Linked DNA regions of Homo sapiens: all the other regions are linked to region 1. The links are contacts of gene promoters, found by promoter capture Hi-C in blood cells and fetal thymus (Javierre and others, 2016). All regions are on one chromosome and are shown on one strand. Each heading gives the region's core, a stretch centred on a gene start or on the middle of the fragment in contact. The rest is flanking DNA. Distances are from core to core; before and after follow the strand shown.

Region 1 (3,297 bases), core at 483-2,982:
AAGCAGGGAAAGACACAAATTCACAGGACAACACTGGGGCTTCCAGAAACCAACTCATCGCAGTGAGAACAACTGAGTGCAAAGAATGAAGCATCTATCCTGCCTTTCTGGCATGAACCATAGTTTAGGTAACCAAACAGCCCTAGTGGATGAGGCAAACGTTATTCCACATAGATGAATCCCAACTAATAAGTACAGAAAGAACAACACAATTAGAAAATCACCGTTCTGCAGCCCCTAATGTGTACTGCATCCAGGCAATGACCATCAATGAATATTGACAGCAAGCTGCAAGGCTGGTGGGGAACCCAGCAGTGGCGGATCAGGCTGACCCCCTAAGCTCAATCCTCAGTCTCAGCACCAGTGAAGGAGCGGCCAGACCACACGCCTCATCATGCCATGCGGTGCAACGTGCAGTGCCACCTAGGAAGCTCGCTCGCCTCACAGGAAAAATAAATCTGAGTGGAATCGCACCTCAGACCTACCAGGGCAAATATGGGGTTGCAGGTGGGCTCTGCACCATGCCAGAGGAGGCAGCCAGCCAAATCCAGAACGCAGGCATTCCACACAGCCGCTACCCCCAAGAGGCAGACAACCCAGGGCTACAGGTAGGCCTTCGACATGAAACCGCCCGCAGGAGAATTTCCACAGGCACGTAGCCATGCCCTATAACCTGAAGCTAGGGCGCCGTGGCCTGTTCTCACAGCGCCATCCCTAGGCTCCAAGAGCCAGCATCCTGGGAGCTCTGCAGCGCTGTGCTGCTGCCTGTGGCTTGCACACAGATGTCACATAACATCATTTCCGCTGGAGGCACATGCCTGCCCAGATTAAAGGGAGGGTCACGATCCCCTCCCTGGCGGGAGGTGCATCAAAGTCACAGCACAAGAGCATGTGGAACGGGAGATACAGACCACAGTGAAACGTTATTTACATTCACTGCATTGGCAAACATTCAGAATGTTGGTGGACTGTAGATCATCCGTGGCGCTAACACGCTGCTGGGGGATGGGAATTGGTACCCGCGCTTTGAAACAAAAACTGACATGGTCCTGAAAGTTCCTGAAAGTTCACCTTTCACAGACTTTATGATGCAGCAATTCCACTTCCTTAAACCAAAAACACCTCATGTGTGCACCAAAAGAAACACACAGGAATGTCCACGGAAGCATCACTCACAATGGCAAGCGAGCCGCATGACCCTGCTGGAAAAACAAATAAATGATGCCTATTCACACACTGGAACACTATGCAGCCAGGCACACAAACTGCAGCTCTGCCCAGAAACACATACCAACCTAAGACACCTTGTGTGTGACTAAACAGAACAGGTTTGGGAAGTCTATGTAGGGACTGATGTCACTTTCTAAGAGTTCAGAAACAAGCAATCATGTGTAATAAAATAAAATTATTTTAAAGAGAAGAGATGAGAAAACAAAATGCAGGATCACGGTAAAGAAGAGGAAGCACCCACGGCAGCATGGGTCATCTCGCTTAGCCTGGTCCTGGGGTCACGGCTGTTCATGAGAAAGCTATGCTCCGCAGCTCACGTTACGTACGTGTCATATGCTAATTCTCATGTCACAACATTTTAACGAATATACTGGGAAGTGCAGCCAAGTACTGCAAGCAGAGGAGCCGGCACACGTGATCCCAGACCAGGCAGCACTTACAAAGGATGGCAGGAAGGCCAAGACGTTGTCACGGAGATGAGGCCCAGCAGGGCAGGAAGGCATGACCAGCAGGCCTGGCTACAGGCAGCAAGCACCAAACCCCATTCCAGATGCCAGGAAAGGCACACACAGGCCTGGCGCAGGTGGGCTGTCTTCTGGCCGCTCCCTGGGTGGACTGGTCTTGGAGACTGGACGGTAAGGACTGGGGAGAGTCAGGGTCCACTTTGGAGGCAGAATTGGGAGGGTTTGAATCAGATGAGTAAGGAGGTACCAGGAAGGGGTCCAAGGTTCCTTCTGTTTGTATCCCCCACAGGTCTGCTGACATCGGCCCCCAGAGAGGGGCAACCCACGGCCAGGAAAGCAGACCAGGCAGCCCCTCTGTAAGGCTGAAGGAGGAGCTACTGTGGGTGGCCTGGACTCCTTGTCATCTCGGGCCCCACGTTGCCCCTCTGGTGATCAAGGACTCACAAACTTCTTGCTCATATTCTGAAAGATGGGCAGCTTTTTGTTTGGTGAGGTTACCATGCCTGCGGCCACAGCTTCCCCTGTGGAACTGAGATCCAGACCCCGCCAGGCCTGGGGCCTGTTCCCCTGGGGCTGCCGTGACACTGGCTTTCTGCGCTCTCCTCTCCCCAGGGCATAAGGCCCAGACCTCCTGCGGGTCAAGCTCAAGACCCTGGGCCCAGGGTCTGCCTGTCCCTGGCCCAAGCTGGCAGGTGTGGCCTGGATGAAAATGGCTCAGGAGAAGCTGATCTGCTATGCAGCCTAGTCTGCCAGAGCCAGGGTCCAGGCCCATGGGCAGCTCACAGGGATGTGGGGCCACGCCCAGGCTCTGTCTTCCTCACGCAGGGGCCATGTGGCAGGACAGGCCCAGCACACCATGTGAGTGCCCAGAATGCTGAGGCATATTAGGTTTGAACCCTGGAACTGTGTTTCTGCCTCTCTGACCTCTCAGATGCACAGGGACTTGCAGAGGGGCTCCTTAAGGTGCTCCAGGTCAGTGCCGGCTGCGGCCAGGAGCTGACGGCCGGCAGGGAGGTGTAGAGACCCGGGGCCAGTGTTAAAGGTGCTACGGCCACTTGGCTTTGCTGTGACCCCCGTGCACAGGAGCACCAGACTCCTCTCTGCCAACAGGCCACAGAGCAGCTCCGGTGCTGCTAAGCCTCCGGAGTGGGGCGAGTCTTGTGCAGGAGGCTCCCAGGCAGGTCCCGGGGCATGAAGTTTAAACAGGCCCCACCCACACTCCTGGGAGCCTGTGTAGGCCCCGCCCCCGGGGCCCAGGGCAGACGTGGGCTATTCTCTGTCTTGGCTCCCCTCATCTGGCTCTCACCTCAGGAAAAGATGTACCTAACTCCTATGATTCCTACATCCTCATAAATGAACCCACAGGAACCTGTGGCTCTGTGAGTGGGGAGCAGCCCCCGTGTCAGCAGAGGCTGCTGCGGCGTTCGCGAACCGGCCTCCCAAGCTGCCCGCGTCATTCAGTGGCGCTGCCCACCCCGAGCACGGGTGGACACCGCGCAGAGTGACATTTCCAGCAGCGCTTTGAGGGACTCACGGTGCCTCCCCATTCCTGCTGCCGCAGGCCTCCCGAGCTGGGTTGTGCACTCAGCGCTCAGAAGTGGGC
Region 2 (3,246 bases), core at 11-2,510, 520 kb after region 1:
GAAGTATGAAGACGAGCTGGTACCGTTTCTTCTGAAACTATTCCAAATAATTGAAAAGGAGAGACTCCTCCCTAACTCATTTTATGAGACCAGCATCATCCTGATAGCAAAACCTGGCAGAGACACAACAACAAAAAAGAAAACTTCAGGCCAATATCCCTGATGAACACCAATGTGAAAATCCTCTATAAAACACAGGCGAACCAAATCCAGCAGCACATCAAAAAGCTTATCCACCACGATCAAGTCAGCTTCATCCCTGGGATGCAAGGCTGGTTCAACATACACAAGTCAATAAACGTAATCCATCACATAAACAGAACCAATGACAAAAACCACATGATTATCTCAATAGATGCAGAAAGGGCCTTTCATAAAATTCAACACCCTTCGTGTTAAAAACTCTCAATAAACTAGGTATTAAAGGAACATACCTTGAAATAGTAAGAGCCATTTATGACAAACCCATGGGCAATATCATACTGAATGGGCAAAAGCTGGAAGCATTCCCATTGAAAACCAGCACAAGACAGGGATGCCCTCTCTCACCACTCTTTCCCAACATAGTGTTGGAAGTTCTGACTCCAGGGCAATCAGGCGAGAAAAAGAAATAAAGGGTTTCAAATAGGAAGAGAGGAAGTCAAATTGTCTTTGTTTGCAGATGACATGATCCTGTATGTAGAAAACCCTATCGTCTCAGCCCAAAAGCTTCTTAAGCTGATAAACAACTTTAGCAAAGTCTCAGGACACAAAATCAACGTGCAGAAATCACAAGCATTCCTATACACCAACAACAGATAAGCAGAAACCCAAATCATGAGTGAACTCCCATCCTCTGATATCTTATAGTTTCCCTTCCTGTTTAGGCTTTTACTGTCTGTGAAACATGTTTTTGGGAATGAAGTGAGGAATGGGAGGAATGGCTATTTATTACTACCTCAATTTCAGAACTTGTTATTGGTCTATTCAGGATTCAACTTCTTCTTGGTTCAGTCTTGCGAGGGTCTGACTTCACATGTACTGGGGAGTCCATCGCATACCCCTCATTTGAGAAACCGCCCTTATCACGAATGGGACTCCCACAGTTGCGTGGAACTTTTCCTGCCCTCTCAACTCCACTCCGCTGGTTTATTTCTCTATTCCTGCTTCATTTACTCTCGCTTTCTTATGCATGTCTATTAACGCAGCTTGTCCTTCTTAGTTTTTTTTTAAATAGACTTTATTTTTTAGGGAAGGTTTAGGTTCACAGTAAAATCGAGCAGGCGGTACAGAGTTCCCATGCACCCTCTGCCCCACCACAAACATGCAGCCTCCCTCACCATCAACACCCACACCGGAGCGGCCCATTTATTACAAGCCATGAGCCTGCGTGGCCACATTGTCAGCACCCAAAGACCCTGGTCCACACGAGGGCTCGCTCTTGGTGCTCTTCATGCCGTGGGTTTGGACAGATGTGCAATGGCATGGATCCACCACTGCAGTCCCACACAGAGCGGTTCTGCGCCCTGAAGATCCCCTGGGCTCTGCCTGTCTGTCCCTCCTTCCTGAGCGCTGGCGACCACGATATTGCCTTTTCCAGAGTGTCACATGGTTAGAATCACACCGTCTGTAGACTTCTCTGCATGGCTTCTTTCACGTAGTAATACATAGTCAAGGCTCCTGCATGTTTTCTCCTGGCTGCTTGACAGCACATTTCTTTCTAGCACTGCATCATATTCCACTGTCTGGGTGTGCCACGGTCCACCTACCCCTTTCACCTACTGAAGGACATCTTGGTTGCTTCCAAGTTCTGGCAATTATGAATAAAGCTTCTATAAACATCTGCATGGAGGTGATTGTATGGAAATAAATGTTCACTTCCTTTGGGTAAATGCCAATAAATGTAATTGCTAGAATGTATAGTAAGAACACATTTAGTTTTGTAAGAAACTGCAAACTGGCTTCCAAAGTAGCTGTGCTGTTCTGCATTCCCACCAGTGATGAGTGAATGCCAAACTTTGCTCCACACCCTCACCAGCATTCAGTGGTCAGTGTTCTGGAATCTGACTTCCTAACAGGTGTGTGGTGGCATCTCATTGTTGTTTTAGGTGCATTTCTTACAATCTTTACATGTGCTTCTTTGCCATCTGTGCATCTTCTCCAATGAAGTGTCTGTTCAGGTCTTTTGCCCATTTTTTAATCGGGTTGTTTGTTTTCTTACTGTTGAGTTTTAAGAGTTCTTTATATATTTTGGATAACAGTCCTTTATCAGATGTGTATTTTGCAAACACTTTCTTTCAGTTTGTGGCTCATCTTCCCATTCTTTTGACTTTGTCTTTTGCAGGGCAGAGGGTTTTAATTTTAATGAGGTCCAGCTTATCACTGATATTTTTTCATGGATCAGCCTTTGATGTTGTACTTTAAAAACATCACCAAATCCTAAGTCATCTAGATTTTCTCTTGCGATACCTTCTAGGAGTTTTATAGTTTTGCATTTGACATTTAGGTCTGTGATAAATTGTGAGTTAATTTTTATGAAGGTTTTATGGTTTGTGTCTAGATTCATTTGTTTTTTCTGCATGTGGATGTCCAGTTGTTCCAGCACCATTTGTTGAAAAGGCTATCTTTAGTCCATTGCACTGCCTGTGCTCCGGGGTTGAAGACCAAGTGAAGATATCTGTGTGCATCTGTGTGCACAGTGCTCTCCAGAGAAGCAGAGCCAAGAGGATTGGTGGATGGATGGATGGATGGATGAATGGATGGATGGATGGATGGATGGATGGATGGGTTCATGTGTTCGTGCTGTCACTGGGCCCGGAACATCCTCCCCACACACCTCCACCTGTGGACATGCTGTGTGTGTGTGTGTGTGTGTGTGTGTGTGTGTGTACACATGTGTACACGTTTTCCTGGGCCACTCTGGTGTGGGTGTTGATGGTGAGGGAGGCTGCATGTTTGTGGTGGAGCAGAGGGTGCATGGGAACTCTGTACTGCCTGCTTGATTTTACTGTGAACCTAAACCTTCCCTAAAAAGTAAAGTCTATTTTAAAAAGCGAAGAAGGACAAGCTGCGTTAATGGACATGCCTAAGAAAACTAGAGTAAATGAAGCAGGAATAGCGAAATAAGTCAACGGAGCAGAGATGAGAGGGCAGGAAAACACGCACATGCATGTTTATATGTGTGTGGTTACATGAGAGAAAGAGAGAAGTTTATTCTGAGGAGTTGGCTCACATGATTTTGGAAGCTGAAAAGCCTCACGATCTGCC
Region 3 (3,633 bases), core at 1,097-3,596, 550 kb after region 1:
GTCTGCCGAAGCTCCCGGCCGAATAAAGCCAAATCCTTCCTTAACCTGGTGTCTGAGGGGTTTTGTCCGCAGCTCGTCCTGCTACATGACCTGCCTGTCTATCCTCTTACCCACGGCAACCTGCCTTGATTCCTGCAGCTTTAAAATAACCCTATCAGGGTTACAGTATTTTAATTTCTGCTTCACATAGTGTAAATCAAAAATAAAACTCTAAGCTTCCCCAACCCACTGAATGGATCCCTCATCTCCACCAGGGGGATTCTGAAGAACCTGAAAAATGAGCTCAGGCCAGGAAGGGACGGGGATTGGACATGGCTCATTATACCCACCTCCCTTTGGAGTTCAGGTGCAGCTGACCAGACTGACAGCAGACTCCATAGCAGCAAGACACCAAGTTCCAATCTGACGCTGGTATAGCATCACGTGACAACAGGCCCTCAAAGTATCAATGTATTTTACCCCAAAATATATCTCTTTGACAAATTTTGAAATGGCCCCGCAAAGCGGTGTCTTGTGGGGAAATTCATATTCTGTAGACTCCCCTTCCCTTTCCAGCTCTTTTTCTGATCCTGAGGAGACTGGCTGAGAGTCTAGTGCCTTTTGAAGGTCTGAATAGGAAACATTTGCCATGTATTGCCTCTGAGGGCGGACACCTATGAGATTTCATCCACATAATAAGGACCTCGGTCTCCACAGCCCCTTCTCTTAACCCAGACACTCCTTTCTATTGATTCCAAGCCTTCAGATAGTAACTTCTTTCAACCAACTGCCAATCAGAAACATCTTTGAATCCACCTATTACCTGGAGGCCTTTCCACTTGGAGTCGTCCTGACTTTCTGGATCAATCCAATGCACACCTCACATGTACTGACTGATGTCTTATGTCTCCCTGAAATGAATAAAACCAAGCAGTAAAACAACCGCCTTGGGCCAAGTTCTCAGGACGTCCTGAGGCTGTGTCATGGGTCATATTTGGCTCAGAATAAATCTCTTCAAGTATTTTACAAAGTTTGGCTTTTTTTGTAAACAATAGGCAGATATAAATTCCATTTGCTAATTTTTTTAAATGCTGTGTCTTGGTTCATGAAAGACATTGGTCTGTGGTTCTACTGTCTGGTGATGTCTGACTTTGCTATCAAGGCAATGCTGGCCCATACATCGAGCAGGGAAGTGCCCCTCCTCGTCCATCGTCTGAGTGGCTGGATTCCTATTATTTCTTCTCTAAGTAGGATTCACCAGCTTGGCCCTCTGGGCCTGGAATTTTCTGTGTGAGAAAATTTGATAACAAATTGATCTCAAATTTAACAGATAATAAGCATTAGTATTTTCTTTTTTGGTAACTGGCATCCTTCAAGAAATTCGTCCAATTATACCGTTTTGGGGGCTGCCTGCACTAGAGTCAGCGTGGCGTCCCCTCAGAAGGCCGGGTTTGCCAGCGCCGCGCCCCAAGCCAGGTCGGTCGGCCAGTGCTGGTGCCCTCGGGGAACAGCGGGAGCTGCCTGGAGGCTGCGGGGAGCGGCGGCGGCGGGCACGCACCTGGCTCCCGAAACCAGACCTTTAATAACGCCTCGCAGAAGGGGCGGGGTGGGAGGTTGGCAGCGCAGGGGCGGCAGCCCCGGATCCCCCCAGGTCTCCAGATCACCCCATCGAGCCCCGCGCCCTAGCAGCACAGTCCCTCCAGGGCTCCTTGGAGGGCCAGGCCTCAGCCCGGGTGCCCCCTCGCCGGGGCTCCAGGGTTGGGGGCACCCAGGAGGCCGCAGGTGTGGAGCTCGACGGCGCCCCCCGACTAGAAACCCAGGCTCTCATGCGCGGCTCCCGCCCCGACCCCAGCTCCAGAGGGGCGAGAGCACCCGGCGCCGACCCCGTCTACGGACCCCCTCCTCCGCCCCGCCCCCGCCGTCCAGCCCTCCCGCCCCTACCAGCCCCGGGCCTCCTCCCCACGGACCCGCCCCGCGCCACCAGCCGTCAGCCCTCCCGGCCCCCAGTCTCGCGTACCCTCCCCACTGGCCTGCAGGGTCCACCGACTTCCCGACCCCGGGACCTCCCGACCCCCGGACCTCCCGGCCTCGCGGACCCTCAGGAGCCCCTGCGTGGGCTGCGCCAGGGCGCCCGCGACAGCACCGCCGCGAACCACAGCCACGGCCTCCGGGTCTGCAATGGAACCTCTAGCCGCTGCGGTCAGGAGGGCGGAGACTCTGCGCACGCGCAGTTCCCCCTCCCGCCCCTGCTTGCCGGTGATGGCGCATAACGCATGCGCGGGGAGGGCGGAGCTGGGCGTTGCCGTGGCTACTGGGAACGCATTTCACGGGGGCGGGGCGTGGTTCCGGGGCGGGGCGCGGCCGCCGGAAGTGCGTGGCCGCCCGGGGCCATGGCGACACTCAGCTTCGTCTTCCTGCTGCTGGGGGCAGTGTCCTGGCCTCCGGCTTCTGCCTCCGGCCAGGAGTTCTGGCCCGGACAATCGGCGGCCGATATTCTGTCGGGGGCGGCTTCCCGCAGACGGTAAACGCGCGTCCACGGTGCCAACGCTGGGGTTCCAGGACCGGGCAGGGTCAGAGGATGGGATGGGGGCGGGGCGGGGTCAGGGGCCAGGGAGATGGGATGGGGTCAGGGGCAGGCCCACGGGATGGAGGGTGGTCCGGGGCCAGGGAGATGGAATGGAGCGGAGTTATGGGGCAGGGGCCAGGGGGATGGGATGGAGCGGGGTCAGGGGGCAGGGGTCAGGGGAATGGGATGGGGTCAGGGTTCTGGGGCAAGGAATGTGGCGGAGTAAGGGGCCAGGGTGATGGTATAGGGGCAGGGGGCAGGGGCCAGGAGGGATGGGATGGGGGCGGGGCAGGGATCAGGGCGATGGGATGGGATGGGGGCGGGGCAGGGGCCAGGGTGATGGGATGGGATGGGGGCGGGGCAGGGGCTAGGGCCAGGAGGGGTGGGATGGGATGGGGGCAGGAACGGGGGCCCGAGGGATGGGATGGGGGCGGGGCGGGAGCCGGGGCCAAGAAGGATGGGACGGGGACGGGACAGGGGCAGGGGCAGGGGCAGGGGCCGGGGCCGGGCTGGAGTCTGGGGGATGGGATGGGGCGGGGGCTGGGGGCAGGGTCGGGCCAGCGGGTTGGCTGTAGTCGAGGCTGCGTCACTGCGGCCCGGGTCTGCAGGCGGGGTCGTCTGCGAGGCCCGGGGCGCAGCCTCGGGAGCCCAGGAAGGGGGCCGGGTTGCTCAGGCTGAGCGTGGGCTGGCTCCGGAGGCCCCTGCAAGTGACACGGGTCCAGGCCTGGGTGTGCGGAGCCGGGAGTCAGTGCCGGGCGGGCGCTCCGCAGTGAATTCTCAGGGCCAAGACGAGCTTCGCGGCCGCCCTGTGGCTGTGGGATCTCCAAGCGGACCCCGGGAGGGGCCTGGACGCAGAGGTGTGCACGGCCCCTCGTGGCGTTCGCAGGCCTGGGCGCTGCACGCAGCTTCACTCGCGACGATGGGAGTATGGAAAACCAGCGCAGAGCAGGGAAAGGAGAGCGCCAGGGACAGGGTTTCTGTAGCCCTTGGGGACTTGTCTGTGCCTTGGGGACTTGTCTGTGCCTTGGGGCGCTTTGTGTCCTTCCTCTAGGGCAGTGATCTTAAAGTGTGTCCTGGATCTCTGAGCT

What was found. The method cuts DNA at HindIII sites, captures the fragments that hold promoters and counts their contacts. A CHiCAGO score of 5 or more calls a contact.
Region 2: a contact is called between a fragment that was not itself captured here and the fragment with the promoter of PCBP3-AS1 in region 1, in 1 of 17 cell types (activated CD4 T cells). The highest score is 5.1, in activated CD4 T cells.
Region 3: the fragment with the promoter of POFUT2 here is called in contact with the fragment with the promoter of PCBP3-AS1 in region 1 in 7 of 17 cell types (activated CD4 T cells, M1 macrophages, M2 macrophages and 4 more); the score reaches 11.6 in activated CD4 T cells.

What each region holds. Positions count from the first base shown.
Region 1 is chr21:45,834,854-45,838,150 of GRCh38, reverse strand. It overlaps PCBP3-AS1 (PCBP3 antisense RNA 1), which reads left to right and starts at 1,732. Exons shown (of 3, transcript NR_038876.1): 1 at 1,732-1,865. All of the region lies in intron 4 of PCBP3 (poly(rC) binding protein 3), which reads right to left. RefSeq lists enhancers at 505-1,048, 2,119-2,626. The HindIII fragment of the contact is 12,994 bases long and covers 1-3,297 here.
Region 2 is chr21:45,311,395-45,314,640 of GRCh38, reverse strand. No RefSeq gene overlaps it. Among named protein-coding and RNA genes, the nearest start is that of LINC00205, 25 kb to the right of the region's middle. The HindIII fragment of the contact is 1,100 bases long and covers 711-1,810 here.
Region 3 is chr21:45,286,608-45,290,240 of GRCh38, reverse strand. It overlaps POFUT2 (protein O-fucosyltransferase 2), which reads left to right and starts at 2,346. Exons shown (of 9, transcript NM_133635.6): 1 at 2,346-2,500. The coding sequence starts at 2,370. It overlaps LINC00205 (long intergenic non-protein coding RNA 205), which reads right to left and starts at 2,189. Exons shown (of 3, transcript NR_026943.1): 1 at 1,997-2,189; 2 at 803-890. RefSeq lists an enhancer at 1,005-1,735 and a silencer at 1,890-2,419. The HindIII fragment of the contact is 9,019 bases long and covers 218-3,633 here.